Linked DNA regions of Homo sapiens: region 1 is linked to region 2. The links are contacts of gene promoters, found by promoter capture Hi-C in human tissues and cell types (Jung and others, 2019). All regions are on one chromosome and are shown on one strand. The core of a region is centred on a gene start or on the middle of the fragment in contact, and the rest is flanking DNA. Distances in the headings are between cores, read along the strand shown.

Region 1 (4,859 bases), core at 499-2,998, 670 kb before region 2:
GGCCACAATCTGCTTAAAATGCCCTTCTGCCCATGGCGACTGGCAAATTTATCTCCGATAGTTGGGTTCCGAGGCACTCTCATAGTGATGCAAACACACTTGAATTTTCCACTCCCAGTGTCATTACTGCACACTTTGATGTTATCCACAACACAATTTTCTTTACTCCTAGGAAAAAGTAAACCATATAAGGTCAACCTATTTGTTTTAACTTATGGAGATAAGTTTCATTGATATAATTAGTGCTTCATAAAGGATATTTGTAAAACTTTTTTTTTTTTTTTTTTTTTTATGATACAGGGTCTCACTCTGTTGCCCAGGCTGGAGTGCGGTGGTGCAATTACAGCTCACTGCAGCCTTGACTTTCCGGGTTCAAGCAATCCTCCCACCTCAGCCTCCTGAGTAGCTGGGACTACAGGTATATGCCACTAGGCCTGGCTAGTCTTTAAATTTTTTTTGTAGAGATAGGGCCCCACTACATTGCCCAGACTGATCATGAACTCCTGTGCTTAAGGAATCCTCCTGTTTTGGTCTCCCAAAGTGTTGGGATTGCAGGTGTGAACTACTGTGCCTGGCCTGCAAAACTCATTCTTACCTTTATTCTCCAATACAAACAGAGATGGTATGAATAGAGCTATTGGTGATATTCACTACAGAATTATGTTCATCTGAAAGAAAACTAGCAACAAAAGCAACTGAAAAATTATTATGAAAGCCTATTGAAATAAATTATATTGTAAAATAAGCTAAAATAAGACATTTCTAATAAGAGGTATGAGCTCAACATTTTGGCTAGGAAACATTGCTAACATTGTATGTGAGAAAGATGACAAAGTTTGGATAATACAGTTTTTAAAAAAAGCACAAATAGGCCAGGGATGGTGGCTCAGGCCTGTAATCCTAGCACTTTGGGAGGCTGAAGCAGGTGGATCACTTGAGCCCAGGAGTTCGAGACCTACCTGGGCAACATGGTGAAACCGTCTATACTAAAAATACAAAAAATTAGCTGGGCATGGTGGTCCATGCCTGGAGTCCCAGCTACTCAAAGGCTGAGGCGAGAGGATTGCTTGAGCCCGGGAGGTGGTGGTTGTAGTGAGCTGAGATCACTCCACTGCACTCCAGCCCGGCTGACACACTGAGACCCTGTCTCAAAACAAAAACAAAAACAAAAACAAAACAGCTTGGATACCCAAACTTACTTATAGTACATCACAAAACTTTCCCCGGTGTTGAGGTTGAGGTAGCTGTAATACGGATCTCCGTACTGCAGTTTTGCTCCTATAAACGGCAATCCATCGTCATCTAACTTCTGCAGAACGCGTGGGTCACCAGGTTTGATGCCAAACACCAGGCTACTATCTCCTTGTTTAATTTTTTCAGAGAGGTCTATGAACTCAGACTTGTAGACACTTCCATGGGCAAAGCCTCGTTCCCAAGAGGCCTTATTCACAATCTGTGAAGTAAAAGAATCGTTAAAAGACTGAGGCCAATTGAGGATTTTCAAAATAAAACTAGGTGGGACTATCATACTTGGTTTAGGATAACTGGCATCACATTTTAACTTTCCTCACATTTTCCAAATCACTGATACTAACTACAAAAACCCAGACATGGCTGGGCACGGTGGCTCACGCCTGTAATTCCAGCACTTTGGGAGGCCAAGGCAGGTGGATCACTTGAGGTCAGGAGTTCGAGACCAGCCTGGCCAACATGGTGAAACCCCATCTCTACTAAAAACACGAAAATTAGCCAGGCATGGTGATGGGTGCCTGTAGTCCCAGCTATTCGAGAGGCTGAGGCAGGAGAACTGCTTGAACCCAGAAGGTGGAGGTTGCAGTGAGCCAAGATCGTGCCACTGCACTCCAGCCTGGGCAACAGAGCGAGACTCCGTCTCAAAAATAAAAAACAAAAAACAAACAAACAAAAAACAAGAAAAACAAAAACCCAGGCACACAGAAATAGCTTAAAATCTAATCATACTTAAATATAAAAGGTAGATAGATCCAAAACCAAACTTCAAAATTTACTCATAATATGCACTCAAATATGCAAGACATACGTGTATCTGAATATTTAGTGGATATTCCTCAAGGCTTGCCCACTTTCAACTTAGACTAAGAACTAATCATTTAATAGAACATCACGTGCCAAATACTAGGTACTTGGGTACACAAAAATATTCCTTCAGTGATTTCACAGTAAACAAACAAGTTAAAAAATAAAAAGATTGGAACAACATTTCCTGGTAAAACTTACCATGGCATCTTCCATATCATAGCCAGTGTAAGAAATCACAGCAACGATGGCATTGGTCCCAATTGGATAGTTATCCATGTCATAATAATCATACATGGAGGGTCTCACCAAGGGACTCTGAGGAGTCTGAAGACGATACAGTTTGTTATCCGATCGGTCTTGATAAGTGAGAAGTGGAAAGCCCATAGTTTGCTTACCTACATGGAGAAAAAACATCTTAGCATTTTCTGCTGCTTTCATCTTGATTATAGGTGTGATACGCAACACTGGAAACAACTAAATATCCATCAGAGGAAAATGAACAAATAAATAGTCATGGTAGTTATGCTTACTTTAGACTAATACATAAGCTGTGAAAATGAAGTAAACCTAAATGTATCAACGTGACCAGACCAGGAAAACCATGCTGAGTGGGAGAAAGTGCAGACTGACATTTAATATGATACGATTTATGTGTATTTGCAACACACCCCAAACAATTCTATACTTAGTTTATGGATACATGTATGATGTAATAAAAGCTTTAGAAGGGGACAGAAAGGAAGTACGCAAATTACAGGCTATCACTACTCGGGGAAGAAAAGGGGATAGGAATTATTACGTAATTAGATTACTTTCTTACAGCGGAATATGTATTTAATTCTAAGTAGTGGAGCATGGGGTGAGATTCCTCTGTGTACTACCTCACAGTACAGAGAATCATTTCACGACAAAATGATTTTAAAATATAAATACATACAAGTGAAATTTTTAAAAAAATTATAGACTTAGAGCTTCCAGTAATAAAGGGCTACTCTTACTAGACCACCCTCAACACATAAGTATGAGACGCAGACCCCCAACTACACATACAGCACTGGAGAGTAACCAAAAGCTGTCAGAAGCTGAGAAGAATTTTTACTTGGACAAAAGGAACACACTGGGTGAATTTCCAGGTTTTTAAGTATTTATGTATTTATTTTTGCCTTATGGCCCAGTGTGGCAGCTACAACTTAGATAGAAACCCACAATCTTACTGGCTTGAAGAACCAAGAAATAGAGTTCTGAGCATGACAACAATTGGGAAGGGGGAACATTTCAGAAATGAGAGAACCACAAAGGGAGACCCTTAAATTCAGCATATAAATTGGGTCCGAATCTTTGGTGGACTCCTGAACTATGCATGCATGGGACAGATCACAGCAGCCCACCTAAGGCTGAAGAATGTACTTCAACTGCCACGTTCACCAAGTTAAGTACCAGTGAAAACTAAAAACCAATCCTCTTCCCCTGGAGAATTTTTGGTGACATGCACTGAACCAGGTGATGGACTGTGTATTAAGAAGGAAAGACATAAAATGAAAAAAATTAAAATGTAATTGAAGGCCAAACACCACACTAAAAACAAACAAAACCAATCCTCTTCAGAGGACCCTAACAGGATCCAGGGTTTAAAACATACTCCTCGCAATGTTCATAATACAATCCGATATTACTGGGCATACAAAGAAATGGTGAAACTTGACTTATACTCAAAGAGACTGATACTAAGATGACCCAGACATTGGAATCTGCAGATAATGATTTTACAACACCCATCATATAAAACTATGTTCAAAATATAAAGGAAAACATGCCCACAATGAATGAAGATAAGAAATCTTAGAGAAGAAAGAAACTATAAAAAAAGAAACAAGTCAGGCCAGGCGCAATGGCTCATGCCTGTAATCCCAGCACTTTGGGAGGCTGAGGCAGGCAGATCATTTGAGGTCAGGAGTTTGAGACCAGCCTGGCCAACATGATAAAACCCTGCCTCTACTAAAAATACAAAAAATTAGCTGGGCATGGTGGCACATGCCTGTAATCTCAGCTACTCAGGAGGTAGAGGCAGGAAAATTGCTTGAACTGGGGAGGCAGAGGTTGCAGTGAGCCAAGATCGTGCCACTGCACTCCAGCCTGGGTGACAGAGCGATACCCTGTCTCAAAAAAAAAAAAAAGAAAAAAAAAAGAAACAAGTAGAAGTGCTGGACTTGAAAAATACAGGCATGCACTGCATAACAATGTTTTAGTCAATGCAGGATGGCATATATACTATGGTGATCCCATATTTTTACTGTACCTTTTCTATGTTTAGCTACACAAATCCTTGCCATTGTCTTACAACTGTAGACAGTACACAGTACAGTTACATGCCACCCAGGTTTGTAGCCTAGGAGCAACAGGCTATACCATATACTAGGTGTGTAGTAGTCTCTGCCATCTAGGTTTGTGTAAGTTCACTCTATGATGTTCACACTACGACAAAATCACATATGACTCACTTCTTCGAAGGTATCCCTGTCGTTAAGGGCACATGACTGTAAGCAAAAATTCAGTAGAAGACAGAATAAAAAGTGACTGTGATAATAGGTCAATAAAAATAATCCAATCTGGGCCAGGTGCAGTGGCTCACACCTGTAACCCCAGCATTTTGGGAGGCTGAGGCAGGCAGATCACTTCAGGTCAGGAGTTTGAGACCAGCCAGGCCAACATGGTGAAACCGTATCTCTACTAAAACACAAAAATTAGCTGGGCATGGTGGTGTGTGCCTGTAATCCCAGCTCCTCAGGAGGCTGAGGCAGGAG
Region 2 (4,920 bases), core at 2,421-4,920:
TCTTCTTGACCAATGCTGACTAGTAACTCACTGGCCCTTCTACAATTATCTGGAAATTATTTCAAAAATTAAGATTTAAAAATATAATTATTGGCTGGGTGTGGTGGCTCATGCCTGTAATCCCAGCACTTTGGGAGGCCAAGGCAGGCAGATCACCTGAGGTTGGGAGTTCGAGACCAACCTAACCAACACGGAGAAACCCTGTCTCTACCAAAAATACAAAATTAGCCAGGCGTGGTGGTGCATGCCTGTAATCCCAGCTACTCAGGAGGCTGAGGCAGGAGAACTGCTTGAACCCGGGAGGCGGGAAGTTGCGGTGAGCCGAGATTGTGCCATTGCACTCTAGCCTGGACAGCAAGAGTGAAACTCTATCTCAAAAACAAAAAAACATAATTATTGTTAATTTTTTAAAAATTGTATTCAGCTGTGCATGGTGGCTCATGCCTATAATCCCCACACTCTGAGAGGCTAAGGTGGGAAGATCGCTTGAGCCCAGGAGTTCAAGACCAGCCTGGGCAACATAGTGAGATCCTGTCTCTACAAAAAATAAAAAATTAGCCAGGCATGGTGGTATGTGCCTGTGGTCATAGCTACTTGGGAGGCTGAGGTGGGAGGATCACTTGAGCCCGGAAGGTTGAGGTTGCAGTGAGCCGTGATGGTGCCACTGCACTCTAGCCTGGGTGGCAGAATGAGAACCTGCCAAAAAAAAAAAAAAAAGAAAGAAAGAAAAGAAAAGAATTCCACTCAGCACTTTAATGGGTCAGAATAATTTTCTAAAAGTATTCATTTTTAAAATATGCACGATGTACTTTCAAAAAGCATTTGAAGCCTTTGGAATAAAGCCCACAAGCAACAGAACAACTTAAAAGTTCCCTCTGGGAAGATGTTTACAATATACTGGAATACATGTTACAATATCAGTTTGGAAAAGAAATATTAACATTAAAGAATCTTAAAAGCCTAATTTACTCTAAGGGTTGAGTTTAGCTGCACACACAGCCTCGTCATGAGCTAAGTCCTCATAATGCATTCATTTTTATCCACATTTATATTTATCTTGCTCCATCCTCTCCCTGGCCCTTCAGAGAGCCACCGCTTGCCTCATTTTGCTGCTCAATGGCACCCCCATCAGAGACTGAGCAGAAAGGAAAGACTGGAAAGCCTCGAAATGCTCCTGGTTTGGCAGTTCCAGTTCTGTGTGTGCATGTCTTTGTGAGACGTGTAGTGTGTATGTGTGTTGGGGGGCAGAGGGGATTTCCTGGGTTAAAGTGATGCTTAAATTTTATTTACCCATTCTTCTATACTGCTAACAGTGTAGAATCTACACACATATTCTCATTGTCTCTCTCTCTGTCTCCCCTGTGTGGTCAGCAAAGCACTCAGACCCACAATGTGTAATAGGAAAATCTTAAAATTAGATGAAGAGTCTAATTTCCATGTTTAATTTCTTCATACAGCACTCCTTTGTGCTGTAATTCTGCCAGTGAGAATCCCATTCTTTAAGCTTTTCACAAGGTGAGATGTAAAACTGTCACACATCTCATAGGTAAAGTTCAAAACCAAAAGCAAAAAGTGCAAGAACGATTGGTGAAACTTTTCATTCTTCCAGCTGGGTGGATTTTAAAAGGCCTTTTTATGATTGTCTGATTAAAGTTGATTGTCAGCTACAAAAATTTGTTATTACAGCCTTTTAAAATTTTAGAAAAACAAAAGCACTCCAATTTTTAAGTATTTAACACAAAACTATTGTTCCCATTACTTTCTCCATAGTTCTCACCACATTCACTACCTCCAAGACTATTCACGGCCAGTCCTCACTAGTAGCAACAAATAACAGATTTGCAGCAGATTATGAAAAATGGGGCTGGCAGAAATGCTGAGGAATTTTTGAAGGTTTGGTGGAGGGAGGGGCAGTGGAGAACAGAACTGCTTTAGTTCTTTGCCTGGCTCTTAAAGTTTGTTTCAAATTGCTATGTTGCCCCAAATTATAAATTGCTTATGTAATTTAACGTGCAAAAAGTGGGTGCACTGTTTAAGAATTTTTCATTTGAGTAAATGAGCTTTCAAAGGAAAATCTCAAAGGAAAAACTTTTAAGTAACTTACTTGACTATAAACTGAGCTTTCCAGGTATTCCTAAAAAACATCTTTGACTGTAATAGGTGAAGGCTAGTCAAGTGCATTCTCGATCAAAAGAGAGAAAATCTACATGCTGAATGGAAATAGAAACCTTTTAGCTGAGAGAAAATACTTGGAATGTGTTTATTTAGCATTTTTCCCCTTTCTTTTTCTTTTGGGTAAAGCCTGGTAAGTTTATTCCAGCCTCCTCAAGAAGTGCATCAGCGATCAAACTTGAAATCTGTTCATCACTCACTCCCCAAATAAGCTGTTCAAGCAGAATGAAACCGGCCTTCCTTGCCTCCACGTATCAGTCCAGCATCTTGTATTAAAATGCCTGGAACAAGCCGGGCGCGGTGGCTCACGACTGTAATCCCAGAACTTTGGGAGGCCAAGGAGAGCAGATCACGAGGTCAAGAGATCGAGACCATCCTGGCCAACATGGTGAAACCCCGTCTCTACTAAAAATACAAAAATTAGCCGGACGTGGTAGCGCGCGTCTATAGTCTCAGCTACTCGGGAGGCTGAGGCAGGAGAATCGCTTGAACCCGGGAGGCGGAGCCTGCAGTGAGCCGAGATCGCGCCGCGGCACTCCAGCCTGGGCGACAGGGCGAGACTCGGTCTCAAATTAAAAAAAAAAAAGCCTGTAACAACACTTCGCTGAATCCAGATAAACGTAAACGCTGCCGAGCACTGTAAGTTCTGTTCTGCCATAACAGGAGTGAAAAGAACGCTCCCCTTTTCCCACACTCTCTGGGTGCCCCTAAAAAGGGATACTAATAATGCCCGTAAGGGCCCATTGGGAGCAGCCAGGACTGCCGTCCCCCCCTGGCCCGTCGCTCGGCCTCAGTCTATCGCGGCTCCCGGACTGCGGCTCCGACTCCCGCAGCCCGTTCGTTCGCCCCGCGCCGGTCCCTCGGGAGACCGGATCTGTGGCCCCCGGGACTCCGGCCAGAGCGGGGCCCCACCATGCAACTCTAGTGGAAAGTTCTCGTCGCATCCCAGACCAGACCTGCTACCTACGTTCCACTCGTCGGAACTTCAGGACTTGCAGCGCGCCCGGCCGAGCTCGATTTCCTCCTCTGCGGTGAAGAGGGGAGCCTGCAACGCCGACCCCGACCCGGCTTCACCACGATGCGCACCCGCAAGCCAGGCTGGGTGCCCTCGGGACGCTTGAGGCGCCGCGGTCAGTGGACGGTAGGTTCGCCTACGCCCCCTCCTCTGGCACCGCAGTGGGTGGAGGGTGTTTGCAAACTTGTCCAGCAGCCAGGCGCGCCCCTGTGGACGCGCTCCCTCCCCAGAGGCCCCTGCTTCCTCCTGGGAGCCCCCACCCCCTCGCCTGGCCCCCAGCCGGGCGCACTCACCTCTACGCCAGAGCGCGGGGAGGAAGAGGCCCAGCAGCAGCGGCAGCGGGGCCGGCCCCATCCCGGGGCTGCGGATCTGTAATTTCTCTCCGGACGGATGGACAGATGGACGTCCCGAACCTGTCCTGTCGCCGGCCAAGCGCGCCAGCGAAGCTCCCTGTCCGGGCGGCCCGGGCAGTGAGTGCCGAGTGGCGGAGCCAAGCGGCCGGCGGGAGGTGCCGAGGGCTGGAAGGGGCGGGCCGGGGGCCGAGCCGAGGCCGGCCGGGGCTGGAGGAGAGGAGCGGGCAGGGGGGCGAGTCCCGGCGGGCCCAGCAGGTTGGGGTGGGAGGGGGCGGGAGGACGAGGGGGAGGAGGGGCGTAAAGGGGAAAGGGAGGGGGTTGGAGAGAAGGGGCGGGCCGAAGGCCGCCGCTGGGCAGACGGCGGGGAAGGGGGCGGAGAGGAAGGGGAGGGGGCTGAGAGACCCGGAGGGAGCCGGAAAGAGAAGTGAAGGGGAGGGGTGGACTGGAGGTCCACAGCGGAAGGCTCTGGCCGCTGCGCGGGTCCGGGGCCCCACACGTGTGGGTGGGAGATGGGGAAGGACAGAAGGTGGGAGAGGAGTAGAGGATGCCCGAGGCAGCCCCCAGACCCAAGAGGAGGGTCCAGAGGCGCCCCCGCATTCCGGGCTTGGCTGACACAGAAAACCCTGGCCGCGCCGCTCCCAGAGGCCAAGGCCAGGGCGGCAGCGCTCCCTGCCGAGCGCTCCTCCACATCCATTCCGCTCGCCGCCGAGCGCCGCCTGGGTACCCGGCCCGAGGTGCGCGACACGGCCCTGGCGGCGAGGAGCTCACCTCCCCAGGGGGAGGGGTTCCTGGGAAAGGACGCTTTGCCGTGGCTCCGTGACGAGCCAGAGAGAGGTGACACTCAAGGAGGGAGATGAACGTGAATGACAAAGTGCAGAGCAGGAGTGGGGAGAGGGGGAACCACAGCACGTCACTCTCATGGGCCTCCACAAGGTGTGCAGGGTCCAAGAGGCAGTAGCAGAGAGTGAGTCGTAAGAGAAATGTAACTACTTACGCTAATAATGGCAACAGTAACTTAATTTATATACGTAGTTTCTTAAAGGTAACACTTTTAGAATGAATGTATTTTAATGTGGTCCCTTTAACAACATAACATAAGCCAAATCATGTCCCTCTCCTCAAATCTCCCTAAACCTATCAGTGGTTCCTGCTGTCTCTGCGTACGTAAGCCAAGGTTCTGCAGTGGTCTACGAGGTTCTACGTGACCTGGTCCCCTTTCCTCTTTGGCCTCATCTCCTTACGCCTCTTCAATTTACGTTGGTCTCGTCAAGCGGTCCCTTGACCCCTACACTGGCTGGACACTTCCCGTAGATTTGGCTACGGGAAGGAGACAGGCAGCCCAGATGGGTTTAGACAGGTTATTACTTACACCGACAGCAA

The links. Contacts are between HindIII fragments. The study calls those that stand out against the background at their distance.
Region 1: a contact is called between a fragment that was not itself captured here and the fragment with the promoter of MERTK in region 2, in 1 of the 25 tissues and cell types used here (liver).

The regions. Positions count from the first base shown.
Region 1 is chr2:112,570,156-112,575,014 of GRCh38, reverse strand. It overlaps POLR1B (RNA polymerase I subunit B), which reads right to left. Exons shown (of 15, transcript NM_019014.6): 13 at 2,257-2,453; 14 at 1,200-1,453; 15 at 1-168. Among named protein-coding and RNA genes, the nearest start is that of CHCHD5, 12 kb to the left of the region's middle. The HindIII fragment of the contact is 7,111 bases long and covers 1-4,859 here.
Region 2 is chr2:111,897,357-111,902,276 of GRCh38, reverse strand. It overlaps MERTK (MER proto-oncogene, tyrosine kinase), which reads right to left and starts at 3,670. Exons shown (of 19, transcript NM_006343.3): 1 at 3,481-3,670. The coding sequence starts at 3,541. RefSeq lists an enhancer at 4,202-4,531. The HindIII fragment of the contact is 10,682 bases long and covers 1-4,920 here.